Regions from separate parts of the Homo sapiens genome. Here regions 2, 3 and 4 are each linked to region 1. Evidence: promoter capture Hi-C in 16 types of primary human blood cells and fetal thymus (Javierre and others, 2016). All regions are on one chromosome and are shown on one strand. The core of a region is centred on a gene start or on the middle of the fragment in contact, and the rest is flanking DNA. Distances in the headings are between cores, read along the strand shown.

What was found. Contacts are between HindIII fragments. The CHiCAGO score rates a contact against its expected background, and 5 or more counts as called.
Region 2: a fragment that was not itself captured here is called in contact with the fragment with the promoter of DLEU7 in region 1 in 1 of 17 cell types (fetal thymus); the score reaches 5.5 in fetal thymus.
Region 3: a contact is called between a fragment that was not itself captured here and the fragment with the promoter of DLEU7 in region 1, in 1 of 17 cell types (total CD8 T cells). The highest score is 6.4, in total CD8 T cells.
Region 4: a contact is called between a fragment that was not itself captured here and the fragment with the promoter of DLEU7 in region 1, in 3 of 17 cell types (naive B cells, total CD8 T cells and total B cells). The highest score is 5.5, in naive B cells.

The regions. Positions count from the first base shown.
Region 1 is chr13:50,839,877-50,846,997 of GRCh38, forward strand. DLEU7 (deleted in lymphocytic leukemia 7) reads right to left here and starts at 3,816. Exons shown (of 2, transcript NM_001306135.2): 1 at 3,312-3,816. The coding sequence starts at 3,770. DLEU7-AS1 (DLEU7 antisense RNA 1) reads left to right here. Exons shown (of 5, transcript NR_046551.1): 4 at 152-218. RefSeq lists an enhancer at 2,746-3,672. The HindIII fragment of the contact is 9,888 bases long and covers 1-7,121 here.
Region 2 is chr13:50,117,532-50,124,652 of GRCh38, forward strand. The region is part of intron 1 of DLEU2 (deleted in lymphocytic leukemia 2); the gene reads right to left. The region is part of intron 2 of DLEU1 (deleted in lymphocytic leukemia 1); the gene reads left to right. Among named protein-coding and RNA genes, the nearest start is that of DLEU2, 4.4 kb to the right of the region's middle. RefSeq lists an enhancer at 4,289-4,814 and silencers at 6,473-6,982, 7,063-7,121. The HindIII fragment of the contact is 7,720 bases long and covers 1-6,346 here.
Region 3 is chr13:50,155,310-50,162,430 of GRCh38, forward strand. All of the region lies in intron 2 of DLEU1 (deleted in lymphocytic leukemia 1), which reads left to right. Among named protein-coding and RNA genes, the nearest start is that of DLEU2, 33 kb to the left of the region's middle. The HindIII fragment of the contact is 4,139 bases long and covers 3,176-7,121 here.
Region 4 is chr13:50,187,701-50,194,821 of GRCh38, forward strand. All of the region lies in intron 2 of DLEU1 (deleted in lymphocytic leukemia 1), which reads left to right. Among named protein-coding and RNA genes, the nearest start is that of DLEU2, 66 kb to the left of the region's middle. The HindIII fragment of the contact is 223 bases long and covers 3,086-3,308 here.

The sequences.
Region 1 (7,121 bases), core at 2,566-5,065:
GGTTAGATACCATTGTCCTCACTATACAGGGAGGAAACTGAGGGACAGAAAGGCTAAATAACTTACCCAAGGGCCAATGACAGGAAGTGGAAGAGTAGGTTTGAAATGCTCCATGGGACTTGACTGCTGTGCTATGCTCTCTCCACTGCAGGATCTCTAATGCCTGTCATCTGCGCCATGGGCTTTAGTTCAAGTGAGTCTTCCTCCTACCTTCCGTGGTAAGTAACACCACCAAAGAGATCTGATGTTGGGGAGGTTCCCACGTACTTCTAGGTGATACAAAATAGTTATTTCCATTCCCGGAAATCCTCCTGCAAGGATTTCTGAAACCATTCTATTGTATAAAATCTGTATGTTCCCAATTTAAAAATATACAAAACACCCTTCCAAGTCATTTGAATTAACACTAGTATTAAGGAAGCTAAGTCTGCATAACCAGCCCCCTGGAAAGACAGAATGCCATCTCCTCAAGTCTAAGTGCTGTGTAATCATTACTCTACAAACCAAGTGGAGATATTACCTATTCTGCAAACAGCAAACCAAGCAAAATTCCTAGGTGCTCCCAAGGGAACAAATCATGCAGAGAAACTGCTCTCTGCTTCTCTCGAAAGCCCTCGCTGTTCCCAGGGGCCCTAAAACTCATTATCCCCCTGCGGGTGAACAGCAGACTCCAGTAGTTGTATACTTCTAGAAAGTGGAAGCAGTACATCTAAATGTTTTCAAAGTTTGCTCATGACAAGGAAGGGAAGGATGGGGACTCAAGGGCTGGGTAAGTAAAGAGTGTTATGGACCAAGAGGGTCAGCAAAGAGGGGGCGGTAGAAAATGTAAGGAGAGAGAAAATTGATAGAAACAGGTCCAGGAGCAAGTGAAAGATTTGCTCCAGTGGAATTAACATGAATATACATGGGGATGGGGGGGCAGCACTTGAATTTTAGAAACAAAAATGAAGATGAGTAGAAATGCAATTTTTTAGGTAGAAAGATATTTCTGTCCACTGGCCTCTATTTTCTCAGAAAAGGTGTGAGCGGGTTGAGGTTTGGATGAAGAAGGCTTGAGGAGGATGGAAAATGTTTAGAATCAAAAGTCAATTAGAAAGGGCTAAAAGGATTTCCAAGTAGAAGTGACTGTGGCATTAAGCTAAAATGGCATAGTTTATAGTGGACTGCTTCCAGAGCAGAGGACACGGGGTTTAGTCCATTGCCACTGAGTTGGGTCAAGCCCTTAGACAGCTGTCTTCTGACCTGACTTTCAAACTGAAACCTACCCTTCTGTGATTTATCCAGGCTTCTGTGATTTACCTACCCTCTGCTTGCAAGACAATCCAAGGTCCTCAGCATGACACACAGGCCTTTCCCTAACTGGCCCCCATTTGTGTCTCCAGCATCAGTTTTTGCCTTCTGCCATATTGAACTTAACTGTAGTTCCTCTAGAGCCTCAGTCCCTTTCAGTGCTGCTGGGCCTTAACCAAAGTATTCTCCTGAAATATTTTTCCCTTTAATGTCTGGAAAATAACATGTATTTTTTTTTTAAAGGCTGCCTCCTCTGAGAAGCCTTCCAGGGTCACCTTAGGTAAAACTGATTGTCAGTCTCTCTTTTTGCCAGCCTTACCTATGCCCTGTATGTGCTACTGACATCACAAGTCACTTCATATTTCATCTATTTTAAAATGCACTTTTATTCACATTTTTTAAAAATCCCTGAAATCAGCCAGATGTGGTGGTACAGGTTTGTAGTTGCAGCTACTGAGGAGGCTGAGGCAGGAGGATCACTTGAGCCCAGGGCTCGAGGCTGTAGTGTTATGATCGCACCTGTGAATGGCTACCACACTGCAGCCTTGGCAACACAGGCAGACCTTGTCTCAAAAAAAAAAAAAAAAAAATCCCTTAAATTAGCATGTAACTTATAATCAATGGTGTATCATAGTTCAATGACAGGATTAAAAAAAATTTTGGTGATACCAAAAAAAAGTACATCTTACATTGGAGAGCATTTGGTGAAATGCAGCTTCATTTTCTAACTTTCTAAAGTGAGTGTAGGAGTGCTTCTCATCTTGCCTCCCACCCCACCGCCCCCGCCACCTTTGGCAGTGTCTGGAGACATTTTTGGCTGTATCAACTTGCGGCGAGGAATATGCTGCTGGCATCTAACAGGTAGAGGCGAGAGATGCTGCTAAACATCCTCTAATACACAGGACAACCCCCGACAACAAAGAATTAGCCAGGTCAAAATGTGAATAGTACAGAGATTGAGAAACCCCTACGTAGAGAAACAATACCTATTTGGGTATATAATAGGCTTTATTATGTTTGATTTTAAATAAATCTTTTACAGTGTATAGTGCAACTTAATGTATAGCAACTTTTTCCAAACCTTGGCTTGTACAGAATAGCAACTCTTGAGACATATTCTAAGCTCTCCTCATCACCCCTCCCCAACTCCTTCTGCTAGATGCCCCAGGGAAATAAAATACAGCAATGCTCCTGGTCAAAATCTGAAAGCCAGAATGTCTCAGAGAGATTCGTGACCTTAAACCAATTAGGTTAGTTAATGGCAAGTCCAGGACTGAAACCCAGACCCCCAGATTTCCGCAATCTCACTCAGCCTGGGAGACAGCTGCTCCCTTCCCGGGCTAAATTGGCTAACACAGTTTGGTACCTTAAGAGGAAATGTGCCCTACCTATATGAGCTGGGTGACTTAGCAAGAGTTTAGCATTTAGTATTCACGCTTTAACACCCGGGACCCACCCAGCTCTCACCCCACTTTATGAGAATGTAGGTTGACTCTGTAAGACCCCTTAGCTCTGTGGGGAATTGGATTTATGCAAAAAATAATAGTGATTCATGAATGTGAAGGAACTTTAAATAAATGTAGATGATTTCATCATACAAAAGGCAGAAGGGACTTAGTAAGTGTATTTAAGGCTCTGGAGGAAGCGTTATTAATTTGGAAAGTGGGTGGGGGGAGCTGTCCTCTATCCCTACAAGCTGCACGTGTGGAAAGGGCCTTTCTAGCGCAGGAAGCTGATTTATGTGAGAGAGGAAGGAGTTCCAGGGGGAGGTTTTGGCAAGGCAGTCCCCACATCTCGGTTGTGCCAGCCAGGCGGGCCTCAGGTGGGTCTGGGGCTCCCTGCCCCTCCTGCTGAGTCCCCAGAGTGTCCCCCGCCCCCTTCCTTCTCCCACTGGGGCTGAATCACAGTGGGCAGCAGTGTTTGGGATCCTGCGATCCACCCATCGCCATCCCAGCAGCCCCACCCTTGGAGGATGGGAGGTTACCCTGCACGCCAGAGGGGATGGCGGGGGCCAGACTCACCTTCAGGTGAATGGGAAAGGACCGCTCCTGCTGGAGGGGCCCCAGCAGCGTCTGCTCCACGCTGACCAGCTCCGAAGTCGAGTCCACCACGCGGGCCAGCGCGCTGCGCATCGCCATCTGGGCCAGGGTGCAGGGCCCGCGGTCCCGGGGGAAGGGCAGCAACTCGGCGCCCCCCTCAGCGCCTCGCACTACCTCCTCCTCTGGGGAGTTCGCCCGCGCCGCGGTCCGCCGACTCCTGGTCCCCACGCCCCCGCCCCGCTCCTCGCGCCCGGGCCCCGGCCGGGCCCGCGGCGGGCCTGAGCGACGGGCTGGAGCGGTGGACACGTGGTCTGGGTCCCGCGGGTTCCCGGGGGCGACTGGACCGTCCCCCCAGCCCCACTCCTGCTGCAGCAGCTGCAAGGTCTGCAGAGCCACCATTTGGTGGCTGATGGAGGCCACTAAGGGCGCAGGGCTGGCCATCGCCTCCGCTGGCGGCCCGGCGCGCTCCGCGTGCAGGTGGAGCAGCAGCGAGGGAGGCGGGGGCGTTGGGGTCGCCAAGGTCACATTTTCTAACCCGCGGCTCCTCGGCCTCTGGGTCTCACAGCGTGTGTGGTCGGCCCCGCCCCCGGCTCTGAATCGGTGACCCGTGCTGGCCTCTGCCTTCGCCTGAAGTCCGAATCAGGCGTGTTCTGACCCAAAGCTGCCTGAAGCGCTGCTCGGTGTGCACTTGAAAATCAGCGAAATGCTGAGCGTTGCTTCTTCCCTCTCTCCAGGGCTTTGATGAGAAAACGTGCTGCTTTGTGCGGGCGCATCCATCGGCGGGGATACCCCGCCCCCACCTCCTTCGAAGGATGCCTGCCAATGACCACTGAGGTCTGGGAGGTGGGGGTGCAAAAGACCCACTCTAGGGCAAAAGTACGAAGGGCTCTAGAAAAACTTGCAAAAGGAAGACTGTGCCTTTCCCAACCCGAGGGGAATTTTCAGAAACTTGTTGAAGCAGCCTTCAAGGCCTTGCATCCCCCAAACAAAAGAAGGAGGAGTTGTGTATCTGGAAGTTCTGCTCTTCTCTGCTTTGCTGGGTGCCACTTGAGCACCGAGAGCCTGGTGGCTGAACTAGCATCAGCAAGCCTCAAGGCCCAGGCCTGGCACTGCCCAGAAAAGCCTAAATGTTTTTTTGTGACACTCCCAAAAGACTTAGGCAGCAAGGTTGAAGTTAATCCTTTTATGAGCCATGAACTTAGGGACAGCTGTACAAATAGTTGCTGTTTTTAATTAAACCCAACATGGCTACTTCCTTAACTTAGAAAAAAGCGACTAGCAATGTTATGCTTTGATAGATTGGAAACCATGGGTGTGTGATCACACTTAAGAAAATAGAAGATATTTGAGAGGAGTGGTATGGAAAACCAGTCCGGAGCAGCATTGTTCCTGCTTGCTTTCTGCAAGGAAAACCACTAGACAACCCAACAGCCCAGTAAAGCCAGGGCAATGGTGCATGCCCACGACAGACAGGTGGGCCCTGGCAGACCTGAGGATGGAATTGCATTACTCCTTTGGGAGCCAGACTGCACCCTTGGTGCTGTGCAGATCTGGAGAGGCTTTTGAGTGAAAAGGCCACACTGGTTAGTCTGTGAGCACAAAAGGATCATCAGAAGAGATATGGAGAGGGATGTTGGGTCCTTTAAGGTTTCCTTAACCCTGGGATAGTATGACCCCATATAATCCTCCCAACTTGCCAGCAAAGGTTCCTTCTCCTTCCCAGTGCTTTCTTCGCCTATGAAAACGAATCTGAATGCCAAGGTAAAGAAAACCTTTCTTAAACAAAAACGAGTATGTTCACACTAATTATAACTAAGTAAAAATGCACGTCTGTGCATTGACAGAGAGGAAATTACTTTGGAGGGAAGTAAATAGTTTAATGTTGATTAGATTTTTTTGCCATGAAGTTACTTAAGTTCATAATAAAAAATAGAAAGAAAAAAATTTTCTTTTTAAAAAAAGTCTTCAAATGTTGAAATATATTAGGTTCAGCAGAGACTAACCAGCAATAGCAAAAATGAACCCCTAATTTTCACAGAGCATGTCAGATCTCTAGGGCTGCCTCTCTTTCCAGATACACAGGAAATTCAGTTTCATGGGCTAACCCTTCCACTATCAAATGGCTGACTGCAAAACTTTCTTGACAGTTGGAATTGCAGCCAAGAGCAGAATTGAAATCACTAGACACAGGCTGACCTGAGGCCCCACTCTTCTACATACCACACTGAGTCAGAGCCATGAGACCAACTGAACCTCAGGGGGCATGACAGAAGGGTGCCAGAAAACCTTGGGGCCTGAGGGATGGCACATGCTGCTTAAATTGCTGCCTGCTTTTTCTAGTATTCTTAGGAAGCCCTGGATCATCTGGCAACTGAGTGTTTTGTCTGTTTTGGCTGTGGGTCGCACTGTGTTTTGCTATGATCTCAAAATGGCTTGTGTTCCAAAGCTAGAGATATGAGAGCCTAACTCAGGAAAAATTTTCATAGTCTATTTAGATGAGTCAATAGCATAGCAGATCTACCTTTGGTCTAAAACACCTCCGTAGTTACGTTTGCTGGGCTACCAGACGAAGTAACAGATAGCCTACTTCTTACCCACTGTACTCACGATTTGAGGCCATTCTGTAATAAAGGGCACATTCAAAAGGACAAAGTATTAGATATCTGATATGTTTGTTTCACAACATATATTTCACTATTTTATAGAAATCATACCCTCATTTCTCAGTAGATATGCCTTTTCCTCCACACTCTGCCCGTGAAGTCAGATGGGATGAGCCCATCTCACTGCAGAAGAGTACTGGATCATCTAGCCTAAGTCCCATCACACATCACATCCCCACAGTGCATGCATGGTCAGGAATGGGCACATGACCCAGCTAGAGCCAATGAGACAGTATCTTTTAGGATGCTTTCAGCTGAATGCACTGTAAAAGAGAAAACAACAGATGCAAAGAGTACAGGCCAAAAAAGAAGTGTAGGCCAAGAGATGAAACAGCAAAAGATCAAATTCCCTTTAAACCAGAAAACTCAACATAACATAGTTTAATCAATAAGAATAATTTATTGTCTCACATCACAAGAAGTCCAAAGGCAGAGTGGCTCCAGAGTTGGTTAATATAGCAGCTCCTCAGTGTCATCAAAGCCCTTTGTTCCTTCCTTCTTTCTGCCATGCCATTCCCAGCACATCAGCTTTGTCCTTAATTTTTGGGCTAGTTCTCCTATGGCTACTAGCAGCTGCTGGCATCATGTCTAGACAACAATAACTAGAAGAAAAGGCCATCTTTTCCTGTGTATTCCTTCTCAAGAGCAAGGAAACACTTCTCAAAAGCCTTCAGCTGGCTTCCTCTCACATCTCCTTGACCAGAATTGTGTCACATGTTCTTGCCTAATTAATCACAGTCAAGAGGAAAGAGGCTACCATGAGAGTCTAAGGTGAACTAGAATTCAGTGTAGGAGTTGGGGCTGAGCCTAGCCTCTCTCAAAGCAATTGGTGGAGGGAGGATGAAAACTACTTGATATGAAGCAAGGTTTTGTTACCAAGCATCAGCAATGGCAACAGAGAACAATGAGGATTTTGCAGGGGTTTCCAGGTAAAGAATATATCAGATTTCCAGGGCTGCTTCTCTTTATCAATACACAGCAAGTCCAGTTTCATGAGGCTGATCTTTCTACTGTCAAATATCTGACTTCAGTGACCCCTGTGCAAGTAAAGCTGAGAAGATACAAGTTCTGGAGCCTCTGCAGCCATCTTGTGAGTTTGATGGGGACAGCCCGCCTATGAATGAGCCAG
Region 2 (7,121 bases), core at 1,237-3,736, 720 kb before region 1:
AGAAATATATCCTAAACTGATATTCATTTATTTTGATGGTAAAATCTAGGATCTGAGGAGATTTAAAAACTTTCCTGTAACTTTCTATATTGTTTGAATTATTTATAAATGAGCATGTATTTTTATAAAATCAATAGCCATTATCCATAAAATAGCATTATACACAACAATGTGAATATACTTAACACTACTGAACTGTACCCTTAAAAATGGTGAAGATGGTAAATTTATATTTACCATTTATAACTTTTGCCACAATTAAAAATAATAAATTTTAAAAATACTATTGTAAAATTTATAAAATAGCTAATGCACAATAGCTTTACAGATGAATTTACAGATTCTACCAACATTTGCCCGAACAACTTTTCCACCAAAATGTGAAACCTCAGATTATACCCTTGCATAATACTCTATATTTGCCTATACATTATTTTAGTAAGCAGAGATTATTCACTGGCAGATACTGTTATAACTATGCCAAATGAAAAGTTACTTATGAAAAGTAACTAATAAGTTATGTTACTTTATTAACTATCCTTGTGCTGTAAAGTTGTAAATATGTCATTTGATTTAAATATTCAGAAGAAAATCTTTTAGCTTTAATGATTTTTTTCCTGATTGTTAAAATAATATGTGCTCATTTTAGAAAATATACAAAGGTAAAAATGACCATAATCACAGAGTACATTTTGGTGTACTTTTTCCACCCTTTTCCTATGCATTTTACATATATATTATATATGCATTTCCTATGCATTTTTAAATAAATGAGAAAGTTTTATAAACTAAAAATCTTAGTGTATATTAAACATTAATATTTGTGTCATTAAGTATTTTTAATAGATACATATTTTGTTAGATTGATACACCATGGTTTATTAAACCACTCTCCCACTGCTGAATATTCAGATTGTTTCCTCTGTATAGATACTCTAGTGAATATGCATAAATCTGTGATTTCATATCTGATTATCTCCTTCAAATTGGTTCCTGTTAGTGCAACTACTGTGTCAAAGAATTGGACATTTTTAAGACCCCAGAAAGGTAATAGATAAGACTGAAAGTTTTTTTTTTCTTTTTTTTTTCTTTTGAGACCAAGTGTTGCTCTGTTGCCCAGGCTGCAGTGCAGTGGCACGATCTTGGCTCACTGCAACCTCCACCTCCCGGGTTCAAGTGATTCTCCTGCCTCAGCCTCCCGAGTAGCTGGGATTACAGGCACAGGCCACCCTGCCCGGCTAATTTTTATATTTTTTTTAGTACAGATGGAGTTTCACCATGTTGGCCAGGCTGGTCTCAAACTCCTGTCCTCGTGATCCGCCCGCCACGGCCTCTCAAAGTGCTGGGATTACAGGCGTGAGCCACCTCGCCCAGACAAGACTGAAAGTTTTATTGCACTCTTAGTGGCACTGGTTATCAGCACTTATTTTCAATCTTTGTCAATCTGACGGGGGAGGGGTCTCTTTCTGTAATTTAATTAGGCAAAGTTGAATTTTTACTCACATATTCATAGGAATAACTTTACTACCTTAAGGACTTGTAATTCTTTGTTTTTTTACTTAAGAAGATTGCATTTAGTTCTTAATGTATTTGTAGACAGAGCATTATTACTATTTTTTTTTTTTTTTTTTTTTTTTTGAGACGGAGTCTCGCTGTCGCCCAGGCTGGAGTGCAGTGGCGCAATCTCGGCTCACTGCAGGCTCCGCCCCCTGGGGTTCACGCCATTCTCCTGCCTCAGCCTCCCGAGTAGCTGGGACTACAGGCGCCCGCCACCTCGCCCGGCTAATTTTTTGTATTTTTAGTAGAGACGGGGTTTCACCGTGTTAGCCAGGATGGTCTCGATCTCCTGACCTCGTGATCCGCCCGCCTCGGCCTCCCAAAGTGCTGGGATTACAGGCGTGAGCCACCGCGCCCGGCCGCATTATTACTATTAGCTAGCAAGATCATATTTTCTTTTTTTAAGACCCTAAGCTATGTGATCCTGGTATCATATTTTCTGTATTGAATTTATTTCTCCATGTGCCAGTTTCACTACACTTTCCAAAGTGCTACTAAATGCTTAGTTTATAAGGTTTTAAAAAACTCACTGCATAATTACTTTAAAATAATTTCCTCAACCCTGCCTTCATTCAAAATGTCTGGAGACAGACTGGCCCACTTCCAATTTTCTTTCACGTTATCATTACTGTGAAGTCATTCTATAGATAGGAGAGCATTCTGGCATACAGAAAAACAGCATCTGTGAAACTATATGGCACAGTTTGGTTGGGGTTGTTGCTCCTTCAGAACCGCATTATGTAATTTTAGTGTTTACTTAAGCTCCTTTGGGCTGCCTCCGTGGTAGCTATGAGCTCACAGAGAAGTAAGTACAGTTTAGATCTGATAGCAAAGTCTATCAGTTTATCCTGAATGCTGCATCCTTTTTTTGTTGTTGTTGTTAAATCATTACTGTATGAGAAACTTTAAAAACAAAGGTATAGTTTCTTCATTTTATTTTTTAAAAAAGCTACTTCAAACATCATTAAGTAATACACCAAAAAATAAAGGGTTCATAAATATATATTTGCTCCTTATCTGGACGTACTTATTTAAAAACTCATATTCTACAGTATGAACTTACAGTGTGATTTTGACTCAACATAAATATAAATATGCAAAATTACCAAAATTAGAGGGATTAGCCTTTAGGAAAGTACAAATTATTAAAATGGCCTAAGCACTATTTCTATTTCTAAGTCATAGAGGAAGCACATTTAATATTTCTTAAAAAAAACAAAAAACACCAAAGATGTATAAGTTAATATCAGCTTAGGGAGAATTTTACAAGATACTAGGTTATAAGAAAAGATTATTTAACCTTGATTATTCAATGAAAAGTAGTATTTTCAGTTTTTTAGAGCGATAACTCTTGAGTCTCTCTACCAAACAAATAATTATATATGCTGGTTTAAAATAAAAATAAATCAGTCTGCATTATAAAGGTGGGAGAAGTATCCATTTTTTTATTGTAATAATCAAGTGTTACGTCGCCTTCATAGGAAACATGCATACTCTTATAAAATACTTAAAAGCCTCAACTGTTCCTTTAGAATTACTGATTTTGATGAATAAACAAGCCCCAATAAAGTCAATATCGTAACATCTAAAAGCATATTGTCCCTTTTGGGAAATGTCATTTTGTTTTAATTATTATTATAAAATTACTTACTGGAATATTCTCCATAGCATTTTGCTTTTTAATTTTGAGAAGGACATTATGCCATTGATTGCCAGCGATCCTATGAGGTCCAAAGTTGGGATAACTCATGGAGGGCAAAGAAAAAAGTTTTCATCACCGTGGAGGTACAGCTACTGTGAATGTCCTACCTAGTTTGGGAGAGAAGGGTATGTGTGCACAGGAGGCCTGACCTGGAGGGAATGGACACAGGGAGAAGAAAGGTGCAGGAAGATTATGAGACAGACTGCCTACTCAAGTTGGCTCAGGATTAGCTTTGCTGGAACATTTAAATGTTTGGGTTTTTATATTTCATTCTAATATAAAAAAGAGGGTATTTATTAGGTTTCTTATGTTTAAACTTTTCTAATGTACAAATGTACTGTTTATAAATCTATTTATCAGAAGTTACATGTGGTGATTTTAAACATGTTGCAAATTGACACTCCTACCATTAAAAGGTGGAGTCTAATTCCCCTCCCCAGAACACATATGGCCTTAGTAATTTGCTTTTAACAAACGGAAGTGATGGATATGATGCTGCATGGCTTCTAAGACTAGGTTATAAAAAATGATACAGTTTTACCAGGTGTGATGGCTCACGCCTGTAATCCAAACACTTTGGGAGGCCGAGGCGGGCGGATCACAAGGTCAGGAGATCGAGACCATCCTGGCTAACACGGTGAAACCCCCTCTCTATTAAAAATACAAAAATCAGCCAGGCGTGGTGGCACGTGCTTGTAGTCCCAGCTGCTCAGGATGCTGAGGCAGGAGAATCACTTGAACCTAGGAGGCATAGGTTGCAGTGAACTGAGATCGCGCCACTGCACTCCAGCCTGGGTGACAGAGTGAGACTCTGTGATACAGTTTCCATCTGGCTCTCAGTCTTAGGACCTGTGGAACTAGCCACCCTGTTGTGAGGCAGCCAGACCACATGGAGAGGCCATGTGTAGGTGTTCTGGCTGATAGCCCCAGCCATCAGTCAGTATTAACCACTAGACAAGCAAGTGGACAAGCCTTCAGATGATGCCAGCTCCAGCCTTTGAGCTGCCCCAGCTGTCATCCAGTGGATTAGAAACAAGTTTTCTCTACTAGGCAAGGTAATGTTGTTTTAAGCCACTAAATTTTGGGGTGGTTTCTGTACTTAAGTCACTGCTTCCAATAAATCCCTAGTCAGGTTAACTGTAACGGGTTAACCTGTTGGAAGGAAGGAAATGGAAGAGGCAAAGGAAAACCCTTTCCTTCCACGCTTCCTTATTTCCTTAGCCAGACTGTGAGTTTAGCACCTTCTGCTACTAACTGTTGGAGATTAAGTGTGCTTTTGAAGTGCAAAAAACACCATCATGGGGACTCAGTCTATCCCAACACCTTTCCTTGAGGGCTTAGAGACTGAGCAGGGGAAAGACAAAGTTTGATTTCTTCCATTTCTCCTTTTCTTCTTCCTTAGGTATCTCTAGTTTCAAAAAAAGGGAGAAGCAAGATTTCATCCTCTCCTATCTTCACTGTCCTTCTAAATTCAAATCTCCAGAAAGACAATTATGGTTTCTTTTTCACTGAAAGAGAACACAGCTTTTTCAGTCATATAAAGGGAACAAAGCAGCAACATGTTTCTATTATCAAGGAAGCAGGATTTTATTCATCAGTTATATGCTACGGACACTGCTCTGTCTTTAGTCACTCATCACGGTTCTTCAAAGATTCCTTCTGCTCCCCTTCTTCCCCTGAATATGGGTGTTCCCAGGGTTCCCTCCTCAGACCACTTCTTACAGGGCACCCTTTGTGGTCCATCTAAGCCCCTCCCACTGCTTTAGCTATCACCTACATTTTAATGACTCCAGAGAGCCAAACTACTTCAACACCCCCTGCTCCCCCAGTAGTTCTCTGATACTTCAGATTCTACAGGGACAAAACAGAGTTCCTTCCCCTAGACTTGAGGCCTACTTCTCCTTTTAGTCCACACCCTAAACCAGAAATCTGGGTATCTCTTGCTCTTGCCCTTTACAGCCAACCAGTTTTCCCATTCCACCAACAGAATTCCACCAATTTAATTACTTCCTTGAATTCCTCTTTTCTCTATCCCCACTATCCCTAGGTACACAGCGGTGGTCCTAATTGATTGTTACTTAGGTCACAGGCTGTTTTACATTCCATCTTCAAGTCTCCAGGACTTCAACCAGTGTACACCTCAATATGACATTTCCAAAACTCCTTTCATGGCTCTCCCTTTCCTATGTTTTAGTCCTGAGGCAGAATAGGAATTTACTCATAAAGCAAGTAACCCCCCTAAAATTGTATGCAAAATTTTAGTATAGGTATGTAAGCGCATTTTTTTTTCCTAGAGAAAGAGCCCATTGCTTTTTATTTTCCTCAAAAGGTATGTGTTTCCCCCAAAACTTGTAGGTCTCAGGCTAAAGTCCAAATTCTTCAGCATGCAGGGTATATACAAAGCCCTGCCCGACCTGGCCTCTTGCCTCCCTGCAGCTAACCTGGCAATTGCTCTCTCTTAACATCTACCTCCTGGATTTACAAACTGGGGTGGAGGTGGGAAAAAAGAATCAAAATCATAAAGTGAAGCCAAAACTGTTTGTGTAGCATTTATACACTGTTGAAGAATCAAAGGCCTTTTTTTCATAGTGCTTTTCGGGAGGGAGAAATTGGATTGTAAACATGTAATTTACAATCTCCACATTTTTTATTCTAGATAAATGCCACACACACCTTCCTGTTACAGAATATTGCATAGCAACTTTCAACATCATTCAGTTTTTTAATACCTATCCACATATGATGTTATGTATTTTACAAATCCTGCAACTAACAACGCAGTTCTTGATAGACTGCGATCTACTGGGAGGACTGCTCGGTTTTCACCTGAATTATTGCTCGTGGTTCACACACTAACACCCAAAAAGACACTCTACGGGTCATGACGTGTCCCTAAAATCCTCCATCTACTCCAGAAAACGTTCTAACTTTTTGAGACGAACTGTTGTAACTAGTCTCCTGGCGAGGCCTGCTATGTCTTATACCACAGGCTCTAACTGCCAAATCTTTTTCAGAAGTCTTTCAGTTGTTGCCTCCAAACGGAGCTCTTTGCAGTCCTCGGGCGGACGAATGGACGGATTCGAGCGAAGCTTATTTCCCTTCTCCTAACGCATCTACCTATAAATAGCGCTCACCGCGCTGAGTCACCAAAACCCCGAGTTTCCCCAAATAGCGCGTAACGACTGCTGGGATCGCGTCCCTCGGGGCTCTGTGACAGACTCCAACCACACACCCGCTGGGCTGGACTGCGGGCCCACACGGCCCAGCGGGTCTCTCACCACCCGGCGCCCCAGGGACGCGGGCGAGGCCGCGGTGTCCGGACCGAGTCGACAGCGTCGGACTTCCCGCGCGCGGACGGCGCTCTGGGGAAGGAGGAGCCGGCGGGCGGCTGGACCTGGCCTTGACTGCGCGGGGTCCGCCCCCGCCCCCTCGGGAGCGCAGAGTTGCGGGGGGCCGGCACCAGCCTCCGCCCTGCGCCGCCCGCTCACACAATGGGACGCGTCGGGAGGGGGCGGCCGCGGCTCCCATTCCGGTCCCAGGGCGGGGACTCCGGGCGGCGGGAGAAGCAGTCGGGCTGGGGCCAGAAGGAAAACCCCTCTCTCCCTCTGCCCACTCAAACTGCGAAAGGGCTCCAGCCGGCGGTGCCAGGGGCTGGGGAGCAGCTGGGGAGGGAGCGGAAGTGCCACCCCCTGCAGTCAAGGGTGGTGACGTCACCCCTGCAGCCAGCCTGTAGCGGGGGTGTCTGTACATCACATGACCCGGCCCCCCTCTCCCCGCCGAAGCCCGCGCGCGCGCTCTCTCCCCCAGCCCCGACTCCCACCTCTCCCCCGCCCCCTCTCCCCAACTTTCGCCCTCCCCGCTC
Region 3 (7,121 bases), core at 3,995-6,494, 680 kb before region 1:
TATTTTTACCTCTAGGTCGGTGTCTTTTTTTTTTTGTTTGGAGATGAAGTCTCACTCTGTCACCCAGGCAGGAGTGCAGTGGTACGATCTCAGCTCACTGCAACCTCCACCTCCCAGGTCCAAGCGATTCTCCTGCCTCAGCCTCCCGAGTAGCTGGGATAACAGGCATGCGCCACCACACCTGGCTAATTTTTTTTTTTTTTTTTTTTGTATTTTTAGTAGAGACAGAATTTCACCATGTTGGCAAGGCTGGTCTCGAAATCCTGACCTCAGGTAATCTGCCTGCCTCAACCTCCCTAATTGCTGGGATTACAGGCATGAGCCACCGTGCCCAGACCCAGTGTCTTTTTGTGTGAGGACCACTACTAAAGTTTTAAGAGATTTCTTAAAAAGGCAATCGTCATTCTGAGGCAAAGATTACCAACATCTGGATTCCAAAAAGTGGGGAAAAATCAGTTATTCATATATATTAAAATGACACACTTCATTTCCAACTACCAAGTACAATGTTCACCTTTATTCTGTTTGTTTTCGCTTTGTCGTGCTACTGAAATATGTGTGCATGTGTATTTAACCAAAGAGAAACTCACTCCTAACCCCATATTTAGTGGTGGGACCATCCCTTATTTAGTGAGGCTGTTTTTTTTCCCCCCAGACCCGAGTTGTTGTTGCCCATGCTGCTGAATTCCCAATATGAATAAATCATAATCATATGATTATACTAAATCAGAGGTTTCAGTACCCTTCCACAAAGTGACAATAAAATGCTCATTAAAAAAAAGAGTAGGTTGTGTTCAATGGTGTTAATTTAAAATTTTAATGCTCAGGCCAAAATGCCAGAAAGTGAACCTCAGTTTCTTGGTAATAATAAGGTGAACTGGCTTCCAGCAGAGAGATTTTGTGGCTTCTGTATCCTGCCGCTGCACTTCTCCCTTCTCCAGCCTCCTTTCTATTTGGTGGTGCAGAATCACCTTGGTCAGCCCTTTGACCTTGCCTGGAAAAAAGTCCTCATCAGTGAGTGAGTGTGAGGTTAGAGTGATAAAGATTCTAAAGGAATGCCTTGTTTTGATTCAAATAGTTGGATTAGTCACAGAGTTACTTAATCCACACACATAGTAGAATCCTCCAGCAAGCTTCTTTGTTTTCATCAGAGCTTTTGAGAGATTATTATATTATATCTCTATCTTTTAAAGATAGAGTAGAAATCCATCTATGAAGAATAGTTTTAGGTGCATTCCTGCCTGAACACACATTTGGACAGTCTTATAATTATGTATCTTCCCGAGATGCATTTTGAGCCATTTCTACCCAGAACTTAAAAAAATATTTCCTATGAGTGCTGGAGGTTCTTGCTTCTCTTAACCCACTAACTTTTTGAAGCCATAAGAATATCTTATTAAGGATTATGCAAAATAACGTCCTACAAATCCTGATATTATTACACTGCCCAAAAAACTTCAAAGCATCAGGAAAGTGTTGTGTTTTTTTTTTTTTTTTTTTTTTTTTAACTAAACCAGATTCAGCTGGCTACCCCACTTGGCTACAGAGTACTAAAGAAGAGACTGAACTTGATCCTGCTGCCCTTGCATACACAACACTCCCATTGACGCTAGTGAAGACTTAAGCGCATGAAAGGATTCCAGGATCAAAAGGTTAGCTCTATGGGGAGCTGTGTCTGGCTCAAGCAATCCATTTTTTTCTATTGACAGTGAAAACGTTTTATAGTTCTTTTTCAAAGTTTTCCCAAACTTTTACAATAACAGGCAACTTGTGAAAAAGTGAGAAGGCATCTAATTGAACTATATCCAGAGGAGATCATGGCAGAGACCAACAGGAAGAAAAACATTTCCAAACCACAGCGATATTGGTCAAATCAATTGTATTTGAAGAATAAAGCATTTGAGGCGTCGGCTGAGAAAAATTTTCATTATGAAACTTGGTTGGACTATGAAGCAGAATGTGAGATAAAATAAAACACAGAGCTCATGAGTTTTTATCTTTGTCTGCTAATGACTTATGCTAGCAGGATTATACTTTTTTTTTGCATTTTATGAGATGTATGAACTAGGAAGAAAATACATGCTATATCTAAATGGATTAGACGTGCAGATTCTTAACTAACATTTAATTCATTGCTAGTAAAACAAATGCCTTAAAACATTTAAAAAAGTGAAATTATCTTAAGGAGATAATTAACAAGCAGAGTAGAATAGCATTTTTGAAGAAAGTGTAATATGGTTCTACACTGGCATTTTCTGCATTTATTGAAGATACTTAGTCTATCCAACAATTCACTCATTCATTCTTTCATGAAACCCTGTCTCTACTAAAAATACAAAAAAAAATTAGCTGGGCACGGGGGTAGGCCCTTGTAGTCCCAGCTACTCGGGAGGCTGAGGCAGGAGAATGGCGTGAACCCGGGAGGCAGAGCTTGTAGTGAACCAAGATCGCGTCACTGCACTCCAGCCTAGGTGACAGAGCGAGACTCCGTCTCAAAACAACAACAACAACAACAACAACAACAACAACAACAACAAATTTCTTTGTGCACTTACTATATGCCCAATGCTAATCTAATAGTTTTACAAGACCTCAATTGAACAAGTGTCTGAGGAAATGGATTGCATCTAATAAAGCAAGACACACCAACTGTGGATGGGTGGTGTGTCTAGAGTATTTTGCATTCCTAAATCACTCTTCTGGAGAAAATTTGTATCAATAATTTTGTCTAGCTTCACCTGGAGTTACACATTTTGATTGGTAAGTGGCTTCTGTGATTTGCCTCTTAGAAATACATTATAATGTTATCCTAATATATGTACTAGGACAGACAATGCTACGTTGAACTAACTTGAATAGCATATTTTATAATCATAAAACTGATATAATATTATAGTTTTGATCTTAATCCTCCTCTATTGTATGAGCAATGGAAAGTCTTGGTGAGGAGCTTGTCTAAACATTTCTCTTGCATTTTCACATAATTGGGCTTGACAGTTTCCTGCCATTGTATAGGATAACTTCAGTTGATGGTGATCATGTTTTTGCTTAAGGGTCATTGAATTGTATTAGAAATTTTATACCATATTCTTGTAATCCTATAAGTCATTTTTGAGTTACATTATTGAAAGTGAACAATAATGTACCACAAAACAAAAGTTACTCATGCAGTTAAAGCTTTTTTTTGTACCTAGGTTTAGAAACTACAAGTCCACAGAGAATAGGGCTCGTGAAATAAATGAAAATACACGCTCATCTCCACCCACTCCTTGTTGTTGGGGCCTGGTCAGATCTGGTGAAAACATTAAGCCATTTGCCTTAAGTGGTATTGGCAAGTTAATTTATTCACCTTCTGGAAGGTACCAGGCTAGTGCTTGCAGAGGCAAGATTTTTTTTGGGTGAAGGGAGCAAACTTTTCCACTTAACATGTGCCCATGGAAATCAGGTACTTCTTTTTTCAGCTACCTTAGCTTCTGTTGGGAATTTGAGGGTGTTTTATGGGTTATGTTCTTATACGGTGGTTAAGTAGGCTTGCTGAAATGGATCTAGAAAAGACCCAGGTCAGTCACTGGTTGAAAAAGGGTTGACAGAAAATTAAGGAGATATGACTGAGAGCAGTTTCTCTTTCAGGTCCCCAAATTTCTCCTCTAGCCAATTCACATTAAGGTCTGAAATTTCCCCCATTGGTGTCATTCCGGCCATTGTTTCCAGAAGGGACTTTCAAAAATGCAAATATGTTCCTGTGGAGCATTTGCACATTTGGTGAGTTTGTCAGCCTAAATGAGCAGTTATCTTTGGAACTAAGAAAGAAGGGTCTTAACAGAGAACCAGGTTGGAGGAAGAAAGATCCTGAGAACATTCATGGGAGGTAGGCCAGGGGAAGACATACAGCATGAAACTTTGGCAGTTTAGAAACAAGGGGGATAACTCTTGTTAAGAGAGCTTAAGGGTCACAGAAGACAAATATAGGTCATTTCACAGCCTAATTTGGAGTTTGATCTTCACAGTAGCTCTTTATGGGAGATCAGAAGGCCTTAGCTCAGGTATGGGGAAAAGACTTCCTGTGAAGTCTTTATTCTGCTTGATCAAGGCTGCTTGAGGGTGTCAAGGGGTTCAAGAGAAGTTCTGAGGCCAAGTTCAAACTCAAGGGAAATAATTCTCTCATTTCATGATTTGTGCCATGGATCCATGAAGGAGTGGTCATCACGACCTCAGACTCTGCTGCATTTTTGGAGGGTTTAGTAAGTCGGCAATGGCAGTGACAGCTCAGTCCAGTTCTCACAGTGTGAGAAGAACTTGGGACATCCAGCTAATGGATCTACAAGAGTTCCAGGTGGCCCTGAAGAACTTCAGCACTTCTCCTTGCATATTTGTATTAACCTGGAAAATTGCTTCTTGAAGAGAAAAGGAAGTGATATTTTTAGAACAGGATCAGTATTTCCAGCACATTTATTAATGGGCTAGCTCCTCAGTGTTTACATGGCAACAGGATAAACTATTATTAGTACTGCTCACATCATGAGGTATCAGGATGTTTTTTGGCGTGGTAGACCATCTATTCAGATGAGGAAGTAGAGTGCATCCATTTATGAATTTATTGTTGACATTTCAACTGTAATTCTTTCTCAGTTTCTTCCCTAATGTCAGGATACAAATTTTCATATCCTTGAGAGAGGATTTTTTGGGAGGGGCAATAAAGACAAATTTTAAAATTGAAAATAAATAAACTGGCAATCCCATAAAGCTCTTGATCATATTTAGACCAGTGAGTGTTTCCTGAATGTTTTTGATGTTTCTGATCCTGTGCTGAGCACTGTGGGGGATGCAAATGAAAGAAATAATACATGGTTTCTACCCTCAAGGAACTTATAATTTATTAAGACACATAAGGCACTTGAACCAGTTAAATAATGAGAAAAGACAGTATATGACACATAAATGCTTTAGAAGTTTAGAAAAAGGAAGGAACAGCAGGGTTATTTAAAGAGCTAAAATTCCTGTAGCTTGCTTCTCTTACTTTATTGGTGGATGACTCCAAAACTCTGTAAGAAGGGGAATAGGGAGAATGGAAGGAGTCTTACCCATCTCTTACTTCCTTATGCAATGTTGTTCATGTACAGTCAGTGTCTACGGAAACTTGAGGACTGATGGGAAAATTATTTTCAGAAATGGAGGTGAATGAAAACAGTCATGGTGGAATATTTTCCAACCATAACTCTTGCCTTCTGTTCATCCATCCGCTCAGAGAGCCAAGTGTACGTATGTAGTCTTCTAGCTACTAAATTCCATTCCTAGATAGTCATAGGTCTTCCAAGGCCCAAAGGCTTACCTTGATTTCTGTTTTTTTGGATAAGTCCCAGTCAAATGGCTGCCACAGAAGACAGAAAGTCATATATAGATTCTCCCTTTCCTCCTCATTGCTTCTTCCCTTCTCTCACCCCCATGCCCCATTCCTTATCTTTTTACTGATTTCTCTCTCCGCCCTCCTCCTAGTCATACATCTACTTTTTTCTAGTATTCCTAGTTTTTTTTTTTTTCCTCACAGTTGTTCATGGCTCTTTGCACACCACTGTCTAAGTCTGAAGAAGTAAAAAGAGAATGAAATAAGTGTTGCCAAGCAAGACCCTTCTCTTCTTTCCATGTTTGGAAAACAACCTCTTGGAATACAGCTCTTGAAATGTATTGAATTATCTTTGTGTTTTGTACACAGCCCAGTGTACAAAACTGGGATTGAGGGATTGAATTATCATTGTGTTTTGTACACAGCCCGGAGTGCTCAAGACATTCCAAAAAGGTTAAATGACAGCAGTAGCAGTCACCCCTCTTATGCAAGACATTCTGGGCTTCATCCAAGATAGGTGGAGCATTGCTGTATCACTCTCATGCATTCATTTGCTCATTTATTCTCTAAATAAAGAGATAAGCAGAGGCCAGATTCCGTTAGGCCTTCCAGACCATAATGAAGAATTTGGTTTTGATTCTAAGAACTGTGGGAGGCCAGGGGACTGACATGGTCTGATTTGTGTTTTTAAAAGCTATCTCTGGCTGCAGTATGAGAATGGATGATAGAGGTCAAGGTCAGGAGCAGGAGATCAGTTAGAGAAGCTATTGCAGAATTCCAGGCTACAGATAATGGTGGCTTAGACTAGGATGGTTGAAGTGGAAATGAAGAGAAGTGGACCAATTCTTGCCAAAACATATATCTGTAAGCCGAACCCTATTTCTTATATTAGTGTTGCCTTCATTTAAGGCTGGGGGCTGGCTCCAGCATTTTGATGCTTGGGTTAGTGTGCTAGAAGCTGGCCTGGAAGCCTAGAAGTCTGGCCCCATTGGACCACCTTACTGGGTCAGATGTAATCCTGGCCCACTAGCCACTCATGCCTCTTGCAGGGTCATGAAGCTGCTTAAAATGTTTGTTCGGTAACTTAATTACTGTTTCACCTACATTCCATTGGCTTAAATTCTTTTCTTTTCTTTTTTTTTTTTTAAATAAAAGAGATGCTGGAAGCGATGGTTTAATACATTTTAAAGTTCTTTTCCCACCTATTTCCTACTCTGTTTGCATTGTCATTTGGGATATTTCATGCAAGCAATCTGTTGAAATGAGAATTTTAATGTTGCGGGCATAATGTTGCTAGTATTGCTTTGAAAACACCACATCAGCTGTCACCAACACTGGACACGGCAGAGTTTATTTCACAGATATTTGCTAAGGGCTGGGTGTGCGGAAAAAAAAAAAAAAGGTATGGCCTCTGCTTCCAAGGAGCTTGAGAGGAAGGGAAAGTAATACAAATTCTTGAACATCTTTTAACTGCTAGCCTTTTACATCCACGACTCATTCAGCTGTTGCAATACCTCTGAGGTGAGTGTTACTCTTATCCTTAGGATGAGGAAAGGGGCCCAGCCATCTGTCTCAAATCATACTGCTGTCGTGTACAAGCCGTGAGCTAAACCCAAAGTCCATGGCCTTCCCACCTTATGCTGTAGGTACACTTCAAAAGCTGTCATGTCTTCTGTTTGAATACCACCCCTGCCCCTTCACAGCTGCAAGATCTTGGGAAAAATGTCTTCATCTCTGTGAGCCTCAGTTTCCTTATCTTTAAAATATAGATAATAGTATT
Region 4 (7,121 bases), core at 1,947-4,446, 650 kb before region 1:
TTTTAGGAGGCTTTGCATAGGGATTTTATATAGTGAAAGGATACAGAAAGCTTCCTAAACAGTTCCTTGACACCTCTTTCCTTCTTGCCAGTTTCCGCTCATGACAGCTATGAAAATCTCTCTCTTGCTCTGCCTACAGTGTCCTCACTCTGGGTGGTTCTCTCATCCTTTGTGCCCCTGCACACCACACTGACCTTCCCTGGTGTATGCAGTCCTCTGGAACATGTTCTGTCTAGCTCTGGTGGGTTTTCTTGTGAGAATAAGCCACATTGCTCCAGAATTTTGGTAAATGAAATTTTCGTATTAGTAGGAATATTTTGCTTATTTAAAACTCTTTGATCTTGGCTTGAGACATATTGCTTGTTCTCACTTTGATATGATGTGTTCAATAAAGTCATCTAAGACCCTGCAAACCAGATCCATCTGCCTTCACACTTTCATTAAATTAGTAAGGTCACTATGAGGAGAGGTATACAGTTACTGTTACAGTATTTACCAAACAGTGGGCCCACAGCCACACTCCTCACTTCTCCTTTTGGTCTCTCCTTAGAAATAAAGTTGTTTAAAACCATTTGCTTCCAGAAGGCCATATATAAAGGTAGTAAATTTAGGTGTTAATTCTGAGCATGGTAGTGGTGCTGTGCCTCATTGCTTTCCAGTCTGAGGATGACTTCTACCCCAAATTATTCTTTGAGTTACTCCTAGCAGGATGAGAGCAGGACACAGGGCTCTAGGGGAGAGGAAAATGACTAAGATGATTTAGCATATCTTTATCCTTTACACAGCTTTGCTATAAATTTATAGATGCATCTGTATTATTCAGGGCTTTCCACAGAACAGAAACAATAGGAGCGATATAGGTTCTCCATATATACATACATACACATATCTCTCTCTCTCTGTATATAAATACATTCATTATAAGGAATTGGCTCATGTGATTGTAGAACTTGACAAGTCCCAAAAGTCCAAAGATTTGCAGGGTGAGTTGTTAAACTGGGACCCAGGAGAGCTGATGGGTCTTAAGTTTTACTCTAAAACTTCCCTGCAGGCTCAAGACTGAGGAAGAGCTGATATTTCAGTTTGAGTCCAAAAGCAGGAAAAGACTGATGTCCCAGCTTGAAGGTAGTCAGACAGAAGGAATTCTCTCTCATTCAGCCTTTTTGTTCTGTTCAGTCTTCAACTGATTGGATGAAGCCCACATACATTAGGGAGGGTGATCTGCTTTACTCACTCTACCAATTCAAATGTTAATCTCACCCACAAACATTCTTATAGACACACTCAAAAGAGTGTTTGGCCAAATGTCCAGGCACCGTATGGCCCAGTCAAGTTGACACATTAAAATTAACCATCACAGCATCCATGGAGAGTATAGGAACATGTAAATTACAATTGAATTCCCATGCATATATATGGGTATTACTTGATGGATATGATCATGTTTTTAGAGCTCAGTGAAAAATAAGGCATTAGAGAATTGCAATAAATAATAAAATTATTTATTTTGGGTGCTTTTGTCAAAGAGGTATATTAATCTCTTGATCCCTTTCCTCTGCTTCATCTAACTCGTAGGGGATATACTTTATATTGCTGTGCTTGGCATCAGCAACTGATGTGACAGCTCTTCCTCTGTTCTATGAAAAGGTGATGTACTTTAAAAAAAATGTTTCTGTAGAAAGTGCTTATATCCACTCAATAAAATCTCTAACAGGTCTAGCTACTTTAAAAGGAACAGTTAGGAGAGATGTTTTGCTTGAATGATAGTTTAAAGAATTCCTGTGTTTTTTCCCATTAGCTCCATCTAACTTGGGTTGTCTCAGAGAAATCCACTGGAGCTGATCTTCCTCAGTAAGATGTCTTTTGGTTTTGTTTTATCATCATTCCTCATCTGAGAACCAGAGAGAGAAAGCTGTCAACAAGTTATAGGTTCGTCCAGTTGGTGGAGCTGTTTGGGCCACAGCACAGGGACATATCTTTTGGGTGGCAAGTTCTAGGTATGGGGCTCTTTCATTTGCAGGTGGCTTATCCAAGAGGGCTGGAGATGTAGCTCCTAATATTCTTAATCCAGTTAACCGGGATGCTAACATGTTGTACTGATGTTACTTCTGTGGCAAAACTTCTCAGAGATCTTGGGCCCAGTAACTGGTCCAAAAGAAAGACTTGAGAGGAAGAATGGCTTTACCTGAAGTCTATGGTCATTCTTATTGCTGTTTTTTGTGCGTTCAATTCAGACTTTCAGCTTGGTCACTGTTCTTCTCTTCTTCCCCTTCCTCTATGTGGTTGGGGACTGGAAAAGGGTGTCCTAGTTGTTCGAGACCCTATCCTGGACTGCTCTTTGCTCCTATCTATCCAACTTCTCAAAGTTCAGCTTTGCTTTTCCTTTCCTGCCTTGTACTCACCCCTTTGGGCTAATGAGATTCTCAGCTTTTTCCAAACGCTGACTCTTCTCTCATCTCTAGGTCCTTTGGGTAAACATCTCTTCCAACCTTGATCTAATTTTTAAAAAACTGCCCCTTATCACTAATTTTAGAAGCAGCAAACTCATTATATAGTAATTTAGATTAAAATATATATATAATTATTGTATTCCTGGATTTTGTTCTTTTTTTCTTGTTTAGTTCTGAATTTTGCTCCTCTAGGATATTCTTAGTAAATCTCTAAGGAAAATGCAAAATCTGCCACTAATAAAAGCAGCCACTGACATGGATGGGATCTAGGGCGAAAGCAAATGGGGAAAAATGGGAAACTTAAAAAATAAGAGAAATGCCTTTTTTTTTTTTTTTAAAGCCAGAGACATGATCTTGCTGTGTTGTCCAGGCATTTCAAACTCCTGGGCTCAAGCAATCCTCCTGCCTCAACCTCTCAAAATGCTGGGATTATAGGCATGAAATGCCTATTTTTGAATGGATACTTTTAAAATTATCTACTTATCTAGTATGCTCCCAGCATCTGAAGAGCAGATAGGATTCATTGATGAAAGGGTGAGGTGGTTAAAACATACAGGAGGCCAAGACTAGTAGTTAGCCCTGTGTAGGTATCACAGGATTACTTGGGTCAGAGACTCAAGCAGAAGTCTCTTTAAAGCTTTTCTAAATGATAAACATTGTTGGAATGGGGTAAAGTTGTTCTACTGCAAGAAAACTCTTCATCAGAAGAAATTAAGAATTAATTATCCTTATCTAATTAGACTAGGTGTTTCTCAATAACAAGAAAAAGTAGTTGCTGCTTGCATTGCTTTTACTCTGGCACTAGTATAATGCAGTCATTATTGGTCATAAAGCACTCTAAAACCAATTAATTTGTAAAGCTTATTTTGACAAGAAGTAAATACAAAGGTAAGGCATAGTTAGCATAATGCTGCTATCATGGCACTCTTGGGCATAATTTATATACATAAAAAATACAAGGGCAAGTATAACTTTCAAGCTGATTGCCTGTAAAAGACTTAATTGAAAACAGTTTTCTGCTTTTAAAAAGTGATTTATTTTAGATGTGCTTTAAAAAACAAAGGTCTTATTGATAACCATTTTGAGTATATTATCTCGATGTGGGATTTAAGTAAAAGGTCAAATCTTATAGAAGTATTTTTGGTATGACTCAATTCTGATCACAGATAAACTTTATCAAGAAAATGAAATTAGTTAAACATTTTCATGCCTGAGCACTAGTTTAAAGAGGCAGCAATTTTTTTTTTTCACAAAGACTTCAAGAAGAGAACTTTGGTTGAGAAACCTAGAAAACAAAGAACTCAAGATGTTATCGTATAAATGTTCTTTAAACAAGTTAATATTATGAGAGGGGAAAAGCATTAGATATGTTTCACTAGAAGAATAAACAATTCACATGTGTAATTTTTGCAGTGGATAGACAAATCTCAGATCTTTTCTGCCTGATATCATTTGCATTTATTCAGCTTATTCAAGTAAAAGACTTATATTTTATTTCAGAAAAGCTAACATGGAACTTTTAATTTTACATTTAAGTCCTGTTTAGTTGTAATTCTCACTCCCCCAGCCCCTGTAGCCTCCTGAACAGCTCTGACTTGCTTTTTTTCTGAATCCAGCATCAGTCCTACAATTAGTCCATTGGCCAGGTGATGGTCATGTGCCTGGTTAGAGTAGGGCAGGCTCCATTTGCTGATGGGCTGTGCGACTCAATGTTCACAAATGTTTAGTCATTCAGCTCCTTTTCAAGGAATAAGCCTGGATCAGGCAAGTAATTAACCTTTGCTAGTCCCAAGGTTTGTTCATTAGAGGCAGGGAAGGAGGAATCTTCTCACTTTTCTTCTCAGTCCTACTGCTCGCCCCAGCTTTATGAAACATGAGCTATGTCCTAAGGGAAGAGCAAGTGGGCCTCAGGTCCTCAGAAAGCACCACAAAACTCTTAAAATATTAAGCGTAGGAGTCTATTGTTCCTTTGTTTTCCTGGACAGGGAAACCTCTTTAACATTGGACTTCATTGTCTGTACCCCATTTCCTGTTCTTACAGTGGCTGTTCAGTCAGCATGATGGCCGGTGGGACCTGGAGGTCCAGCAGCAGCTAAGATGTCCAGGCCCTACTCGTTTGTACCCCTGGTAGCATTCTGCCTTAGATATGAGAGACACTTCCCAGGCTCTTCCTGCATTTCCATCTTATGCTCTGGCAAGCAAATGCCAATCTTGGCTCTTTTCCACTTAAAATAGTCCTTCTACTTTTTATCTGCTGTGTAAATTGGGGTTAGAAATATTGACTTAAACTGCACCAGACTCTGCTGCCAGCTTGCCCATTCTCCATTACCCAAGTCTTCCTCCCTAACAGAACCCAGAGTTTGTTCATATATTGGCAGCAATGTACTCAGCCCGGGCAATGGATCTTGACTGGTTTCAGCCAATCAGAATATCTTCTATTAAGGATAAGGATAGCTTCCCTGCAGCTAGGGGTGGCTGAGTAACCTTGTTCTGACCAGTAAGATTTAAGCAGCAGAAGTCCACTGGGAAGAAGGGAATGGGGAAGGAAGACTCCTGGGAAAGCTTTTGTGCTCTTAATAAAAGAGCAGAGAAACTGCTGTGCTGCTTGCCCCTTCATCTTGGCTTGAAAACAAATGTATTGCCTGGAGCTGAGGCAGCTATTTTCTGACCATGAAGTAATAAGCCTTATTGTTTGACATGTGAATGCAATAAACCTCTACCCACATAAGCTACCTCCATTGAAGGATTCCATACTTGGCACAGAATTTCTAACTGACACACACTAAAATTCAGATATAAAAAAAAATAGTTTCTGTAACGTTTTGGTAACTGATTTCATCTCTTCCTGAACCTTTGAGGTTGAAAGTGGTGGCAGCAGAGGTGGCAGTAGCCACTTACCTTTATCATTAATGATAAGTTAATTTATTTTGGGGAAATGACTCAGTTGTTCAATTTTCCTTCCACTTGCCTCTTCGAGATGATATCTGTGGTAAATGGGTGTGAGCTCTTAAGCAGTAGCATGATCTACTGGCTCACGCTTGCTTTTCAGAGCTGATTGTTAAGTTTAGGGGAATTCTGCAAGTCACTTGTTATATGCAACCATTATTAGATAAGTTATATAAACTTACAATATTAAAAAGAAAGGTAGTACTCAAAACTCACCACTTTTTAATTATTTAAGTACATTTTACTATTATTCTTGCAATTGAAGTTATTTATGTCTTTTTGTTTGTTTTAGAGACAGGGTCTTGCTCTGTTACCCAGGTTGGAAGCCCAGGCCGGAGTGCAGTGGCACAATCATAGCTCACTGCAGCCTCAAAGCTCTGAGCTCAAGTGATCTTCCCAGCTCAGCCTCCCATGTAGGTGGAACTATAGACACTAGCCACCACGCCTGGCTAATTAAAACAATTTTTTTTTTAGAGACTGGGGTCTTACTGTGTTGCCCAGACTGGTCTTGAACTCCTGGCCTCAAGTGATCTTCCAGACTCAGTCTCCCAAAGTGCTGAGATGACAGACCTGAGCCACCACACCCAGCCTATTTGTGTCTATTGTATCTGTAAATGGAAATACTATATAATGCCGCAGTTAGCATGAGAGTACAGATATCTCTTTGACATACTGATTTCATTTCCTTTGGATGTATACCCAGGAGTGGGATTGCTGGATCATATGGTAGTTCTATTTTTAATTTTTTGAGGAGCCTGCATACTGTTTTCATAATGGCTATGCTAATTTACATTTCCACCAACAGTGTACAAGGGTTTCTTTTTCTCCACATCCTTGCCAACATTTCTTGTCTCTTGTCTTTTTGATAAAAGCCATTCTAATGGGTGTGAAGTGATATCTCATTGTGGTTTTGATTTTCATTTCTCTGATGATTAGTGATTTTGAGCATTTTTTTTCATGTAGCTGTTGGCCATTTGTAAGTCTTCTTTTGAGAAATGTCTATTAAGATATTTTGCCCATTTTTAAATAGAAAAATCCTCTACTTTTGACTTTTCCCTTAACCTTCACCTAAAACCTCTCAATTTGAGATTTAGGTCCAAGGCAAAGAAACCATGTTTTCCTGCTTATGTCTCCATCTTTTTAACGTCTTCTTACCCATCACCATGAGCTTTTCTTTTCCCTTCTGTTTGGTAGAAAATAGTTTTAAGTTATTTCATTCTCCTTCCTGAGGAGTTGCTTTTTCCCTTTCTCTGAGGCCATATTGGTGAAAAGGCTGCAGAGAACCTGATTCATAGGGGAGAATGAATTAAAAATACATTTTAATGTATATAAAAAACTATCACCATCACGCTTGTAACTATGAGTCACCTTGTCCACCCTTCCACTCCTCACTACTCCAGGGTTCCACAGACCTGAGAGTAGGGACTGTGGTGAAGAATGACTGGCAGATATACAGCAACTGAAAAGGCACCACGCTTTTATCTCAGTTGCATTACCCTTTGTATATCAGCACTTAAAAAGGGATCTTTTAAATAACATCCTTGAATCCTTTTGGGTGGTAGAAGTAAAATTGGGGCTAAGCAAGAATGAAATGGACTTTTAGAAGTTAAAATAGGATGTTGTATGGGCAAATGTATGAGGTAGGAAAATAATGTTGTCACTGCTTTGCTATCTCCATTTTCAACAGCTCTCTCAGTGCCTCTGGCATCTCCTTCTTTTGCTATG